Regions from separate parts of the Homo sapiens genome. Here region 2 is linked to region 1. The links are contacts of gene promoters, found by promoter capture Hi-C in human tissues and cell types (Jung and others, 2019). All regions are on one chromosome and are shown on one strand. Each heading gives the region's core, a stretch centred on a gene start or on the middle of the fragment in contact. The rest is flanking DNA. Distances are from core to core; before and after follow the strand shown. Region 1 holds the start of ANXA2R (annexin A2 receptor). Region 2 overlaps SELENOP (selenoprotein P).

What was found. The method cuts DNA at HindIII sites, captures the fragments that hold promoters and counts their contacts. A contact is called where the count stands out against the background at its distance.
Region 2: a fragment that was not itself captured here is called in contact with the fragment with the promoter of ANXA2R in region 1 in 1 of the 25 tissues and cell types used here (stomach).

What each region holds. Positions count from the first base shown.
Region 1 is chr5:43,038,866-43,042,122 of GRCh38, forward strand. ANXA2R (annexin A2 receptor) reads right to left here and starts at 1,454. Exons shown (of 1, transcript NM_001014279.3): 1 at 506-1,454. The coding sequence starts at 1,181. The coding sequence ends at 600. The region is part of intron 2 of ANXA2R-OT1 (ANXA2R overlapping transcript 1); the gene reads right to left. RefSeq lists enhancers at 336-876, 568-617, 638-1,047, 1,058-1,107, 2,763-2,842 and a silencer at 1,448-1,717. The HindIII fragment of the contact is 17,645 bases long and covers 1-3,257 here.
Region 2 is chr5:42,803,192-42,806,448 of GRCh38, forward strand. It overlaps SELENOP (selenoprotein P), which reads right to left. Exons shown (of 5, transcript NM_005410.4): 4 at 1,465-1,582. Among named protein-coding and RNA genes, the nearest start is that of SELENOP, 7.1 kb to the right of the region's middle. RefSeq lists enhancers at 541-1,041, 1,042-1,542. The HindIII fragment of the contact is 6,382 bases long and covers 1-3,257 here.

The DNA.
Region 1 (3,257 bases), core at 204-2,703:
TGGTCATCTGTGAAGTTGTATTAATATAAGTAATTGCGTGGTCCTTCCACGAGAAATAGCAAAGATTGATAAACCTCTCAGTCTTATGATCGTGAATAAAATTCCTGAGTGTAAAACAATGAATCGATATACTGAAAAAAAGAAAGACCGCTGTTAAAAATAAAATTAACAATTAAAATTAAAAAGACGTTATAATAACGTAAAAGACATGATATAAAATTAAATGTAAACAAACAATACATTTAAAAAGCAATAATTAGAAAAATAGTAGGAATAAGATTTTAAAATACAATGGAAAAAAACAAATTTTAAATTTGCCAAAAACTCTAAGAATTCTACAATCGTAAAATAGATTTCTCAAAGTGAAAACAGATACGAATGAAATATTTAATGAAATAAATACAAATATTTAAAATACAAGGAAACTGAAAGTAATAAGCGACGCGAAACAAGAAAGAAACATAAGGGAAAAAGAGAATTTAAAAACTGACAACCAGCAATGAAAGCACATCTTAATGTATTTTTATTTTCTAGGTGGAGACGTTTGGTAACTGAGAATCTTTTCAAGGAGGAGAATCCAAAAAGCCTTCTGCTGCTATCTAAGGCTGCTTAGCTCCACAGATCCGTGAACAGCACGCCCAGAGTACAGAGAACGCGGCAAAACCAACGCGAAGAATCCACTCCAGGCAGTCTGAGAAACCCGGGAGGTGGCGCCACGGCTGGAGGGCAGGAGGATGGCGGCGTTCCAAAAGGCACCCGCTGTCACAGACCTCGGTGTCCTGCTGTCTGTCCCAGGGATGGAGAGGACTGCTCCAGGGAAGCTGCTGGAGCCTGAGTCTGTCGGGTTCCTCTGCCTGCCCCACCTCTTCTACGGGTGCCTCTTGCTGCTTCTGTGTCCCCGGCCAACTGAACTCAGTGGGCTTCGCTGTACTTGGTTCCAAGGTGCTCTGGACTCCAGGAGAGAGTCCGTTTTGCCAGTAGACTCCGGGCAGCCGCCAGCAAGGGCTGGAAAGCAGTCCCAAATCACAGCTGTCCAGTGAGTACTCTCCTAGTACTGGATACAAAGGAAGAGGCCACGGCCCACGATCTTCTGAACTCACAATAGGTGGAGGCTGGGGCTCTGGCGCCACCTCTGCGGAATCCCAAGCCCGCTTCACACAGCCAAGAAAATGTTGCTCCATCCCTCAAGCCTCAGACCAACGTTTGCGCTGATCAAGGAGGGAGAGTCTCTGCACTACCATCAGCCTGAGTATTTATGCTCTGCAGAGCCCGTGGGCGGAGGCCAGTCAGATATTAAGAAACTCAGTAGTAACAAATGCACGAAAATTAGTAGACAAATGAAAAACGATAACATTTTAGAGAGTACATAGAACCAAAACGAACCGTAATTCCGACAGAAAAACATGGCGAGAAAAGAAACCGAAATGAAATGACACTAAGCAAATCTTGAAGAGAACTAGCGCTACAGAACGCAGGTATTCAAGAGCGCGCAAGGGCCAAGAACCACCCGTTTCCGGGAAATGAGCGTTGCTGCCACCGGAAAACTGTCTGCTAGGGCTCTGCCCTAACCACCTTGCAAACGAGAAACTGGCGCGTTGAACTTAGCAAGCGCCGGCACCTAGCGGATAGCGCTGGTATTGCCAAACAAATATCCGTTTTGGCGCCGTAAAGGGTGCTGCTAAAGAGAAACAGCATGCTCTTAGAACTAAGAGCGGTGCTTCCACACCTAAACAACCTGTTTGGAGGAATGAACCAACTCTGTTTCAATGTGTTGTACCAGAAAAATGTGTTGCGGCATTTAATGTGTTTTAATCCGTTCAATGTGTTTGATAGGTTTAATATGTTTTAACCCGTTTTAATGGGTTGTGACAGAAAAAGCGCCGGCTAATGGTACCACACAATTACTAGTGCGAACAGCGGCTCGGTGCAATCACCGTTCTGCACGGCAAAACGGGGTTCAGGAAGTTCCTAGGAGATACTAGCGGTTGTAGGAGCGAAAAAGTGACAGCACTGAGAACCTAAGGACCCCGCGAACGGGAAATGTCACGTTGGGTGCAGCAACTGAGAAAACGCCCAGTGGGCGCCACTGGCAAACGTGCTGATACAAAACCGCCAGCTCTGCATAGGAAGCGGAGCCTCCAGACAGAACCCGGAACCTGATACCAGCGAGGCTAAGACCGAGCTCGGCTCCCCGGCTCCTGAGAGAATGAAAGTCAAGAAGCACGAATCTGAGACGCTCAAAATTAGAAGAAAAAAAAAATACATAATTTAAAATAATGAAAGTCTGAAATGCAAGTAAAAATGAAAAACACATCGGTAACATTGTCCTCAGAGCAAGACACAAAAATAATTTTAAGGTAAGCAAAAGTTACAGAGAACCAACCCTACAAAGAAGAAATTACAAATATGGCTAAGCGATGCAATGCCTACCATTAGAATATTTCTGTCAGATCTAAACCCCTGCAGGTTGCTCCTGTCATAATTTCCTACGAGAAAAAAAACAAAAATATCCACGGTTAAACGTGTTTAGCTACGTCTAAAAAATCGTAGTAGCTGGTACATCCCGATTTGGTCTACAAGAGGAAAAAGTCTCGATGGGCAGGACTTGCTATTGTCAAAGGGAGCTTGGTAAAACTGAGACATCGCGATCGCCGGCATTTCCTGACTTCCACGGGAGTTTTAAAAACACACAAGCATAGCTAAGACAGGACTCGATATTGCGAAACCAAACTTGGTATAAGAGCTCCCAACACTGCTAAACTGGTCATCGCTAAACCTTTAAAAAAAAAAAAAAAGCATTCGCTGGTACCCAGATTTCCACAGGAGTTAAACATTTCCTGCGCAGCTAAAGCAAGTCTTACCAGTAGGAAACCGGAACTTGCTAGGACTAAGAAACTTGAGGCTAGGCTGACCCCATGGTTGTTATGATTAGAAATCCGAGGCCACTGGAAACCCGGAGCTGCTGACCAACGAGTCACAGGGTAACTTCGCCTTCGCATGGGGAAACGGGTGAGTTCCTACGGCCTAGATATCGCAGCCAGGGCTAGACCGGTGTTTGTCTTAAGTCAGGACTTGCTTGGGCTGAGAAAATACATTTTGGCTATTCCCCTACTTGGACAGAGGGTGGAAATCCCAGGCACCGCGAAATCGAAACTTGCTAGGACTAAGAAGCCAACGACGCGCGAAACCGTGGGGTCCTGCGACAGAGACGCCGGCGGCGCCGCCACAGGACTGCGTTCTGGAGGCCGAGCCGGAAC
Region 2 (3,257 bases), core at 493-2,992, 240 kb before region 1:
TCACACATTTTAAGCATATTGTGGTAACTATTAACTGCCTTTTTCAATATAACTGGGTATATTTATAACTAGCAAGCATTTGCACAAATGAGAAATGCAGAAATAATCCCAAAATATGAGGAATCATTATAATTAGTATTTATTAAATGCTTAGTATAGGTTGAGTTAGTACTTTTCTTTCATTACTCTTAGTATTTTCTTCCATTACCTCAGTCTCCTCATCTTTAAAAATAGTAAAATAACCCTCAAAAGATCATTATAAAGATTAAAATGTGAAAATTACATAACTAGAGTAAGTAACTTATACTCCTTAACAACTAAATTAATTAATTAAATTCGTTAAAAATTTGAGGCGGCTTTCTTTAGACCTGGGGAAAATCTGAAGGAAATACAACTTACAGATAAAATTGTGAATTGTTTTTAAACCTAAGTTCAAATTTTCCCAATCTGACTTCTCAATGGAACATTGTTTAGAATTATTTTCCTTTTTGTTATGAAGGAAAACAAGTCTAGTTAATACAAATTAAATTCTTTGAGTGCCTTTTTTATTTAAAAAAGATTTAAATATAGTTCTTCTCATAACAAAGAAGAAATATTTTCATGGTTGTTAGGAAATAAATACCAGTAATGAGTAGAAAACTTACTCCATTTTGAAGTAAACTCAGACTGCAGATGGGCAGGCAGTGGAAGGGCTTCAGGAAAAATCTGATAGCCTTGCATCTTCAATAAATTAAGTAGTTTCTGGCCCCAGTTCCATTCCAAGTAATGCTGTGGGTAAGCTTTGCTATTTTTATGTTCTTGTGCTAACATGTTCAGGTTACTACAATAACATTGCTTTTTTGTGTTGACTAAATTTTTTGAGCACTTATGCCCATGCAACGTCATTTGGTGGTAACTGAAATACGATACATTGATTTTTAATTTCTAAAGCTCTTCTAGATAAAGGCAGCAACATCGATCTTCAAAAGATGTTTTAAACTAGAGGTTAGGCCGGGCGCGGTGGCTCACGCCTGTAATCCCAGCACTTTGGGAGGCCGAGGCGGGCGTATCACAAGGGCTGGAGATCGAGACCATCCTGGCTAACACAGTGAAACCCCGTCTCTACTAAAAATACAAAAAATTAGCTGGGAGTAGTGGCGGACGCCTGTAGTCCTAGCTACTCGGGAGACTGAGGCAGGAGAATGGCGTGAACCCGGGAGGCGGAGCTTGCAGTGAGCCGAGATCGCGCCACTGCACTCCAGCCTCGGCGACAGAGACAGACTCCGTCTCAAAAATAATAGTAATAGTAATAAATAAATAAATAAAGTAGAGGTTAGATGACAGGATGTTTGTTTAATTGTAAAAATTATTGTTATTTATTTTTAGTACACCTGCAAAAGCATTGAGTTTTCTAAATAAGTGTTTCATGATAAACTCTTAAAAGATTTCCTCTTTTCTCCCCAGAAAAATAATTCAGAAAAATACCGTGAGAGAGCAGTTTCCACATTTCTTTTCACAGTAAGCAATCTTAATGGCTTCTTCTACATATGGGAAAGTTAGGAAGGAAAAAGGCAAACCAAGATGATATACAAGACGGCCACATCTAAGAAAAAGGACAAATACAATGTCACTATAATATTTTCTGTATCACGATCCTACTCAAATACAGTCTGGGATAGGTATTATAGGTTTAATGGTCATAACTAAGACCCTTTCACGCCTTTACTAAATTTCTTTGGATGAGAGCTACAAATGAGCTCCCAGGTACTGCACACCAGGTCAGGTCATAGCAACACTATAATTAGTCTAATACTAGTATTTTGAAATGTTATAGATATGTCACTATATAATATCAAAAATGTCATCACTGTGACTTGGTAAAATACAATTTTGTGACTGACTTATAAATTCTACCAGTGCCCAAACCGCTAACTTATAAATTAGGCTCTGAAAATCACTTGAGCTTGTCATAACTGCTAAGGCAGCACAAATTTGACACAACAAGAAATCATCACATAACAAAAACATCTCCAAGCCTTGGCCAGTAGCCCATTTATTTAAAAATGTATCTAATGCAATGAAAATTTCAGCACAATGAAAGTATTAGAACATGTGGCATTGTCAGAAATGGTGGGGTTAAAATGTTCTTCTTGCCTACATTTTACCTAGTATATATGGTTTTATGTGACTATCAAAGGGTTATACTTTTAGGTTATCCTAAAAATTAGAAGTTTAAAGGCCTAAAAGAATGAAATGTGAATTTTTAAAAATTTAGTGTAAGACCAAGTAGGGCTCACCAGACTCCGGAGAGTCAAAAAAAACAAAGCACCAACTAAGAATGTTTATAATGGCATAATGCATGAATTGAGATTCCCTCAAAATATAAATGTTTTATTTGTTCATAGAATCAAAAGTAGATTTGTGCAGATCATGCTTAAATGATTAACTCACTTTACAGTTCAGAAATTCAGGTATGTAGCCTTAAAATTATTATTTAGATTAAAATTAATTAGAAGATATGGTTATTCATTTGCAAAAGAATTAGGTTAGAATTGTACAGGATATACAAATTGGTCATTCTTTTTATTTAACCGAAATGCCAATTTATGGGGATAATCAATTTTCTGTATTTTCCTCTTGGAATGGTGAACTCTTTTACATGCCTTACTTTTTAAAAAGTCATTTCAAAAATCAAAGTCATTTCAAAAAAATAAATGTGAATAAAGAGTTTATAAACTATTTGGCAATAATCAAAAGCAAATATATTATTTTAAATCACTTACTATTAAATACAAAACAAGAAGAAATCAAGTGAAGAGATTAGTGGAAAAATCTAGAGGAGTGGTCACCAGGAAGTAACTTGAGATAATAATTACGGATATGAGATAAATATACTCAGGATTAAGAACCCATAGAATTTGATTACTGACTGAGGTGGGAAGTGTGGTGGAAGGAGTAAGTAATACATTCCTGTCACACAGTTTTGTGAAGGGGTGGATGGCAGCAAGGCTGCCATACCTGATGGTTTTTGTGATGTCCTGCAAAATAGTGGATGATGACTGGGAGTGCAGGGTCTGAAAATTATAGGATTATATGCCCTAGTGGTTGGCTGCATCTGCCTCCAATAGGTTGTATATAAAAATCACACAAAAGTGAAAGTATAAGCATGTTTTAGGAGAAGATAATCAATACAGATTTGAATAATTAAATTTAAGATGTTTGTGAATATGTCTAGGAAGTAGACTCGTCTGGAGTTCAGTCATTGTGTTTCAGCTTTG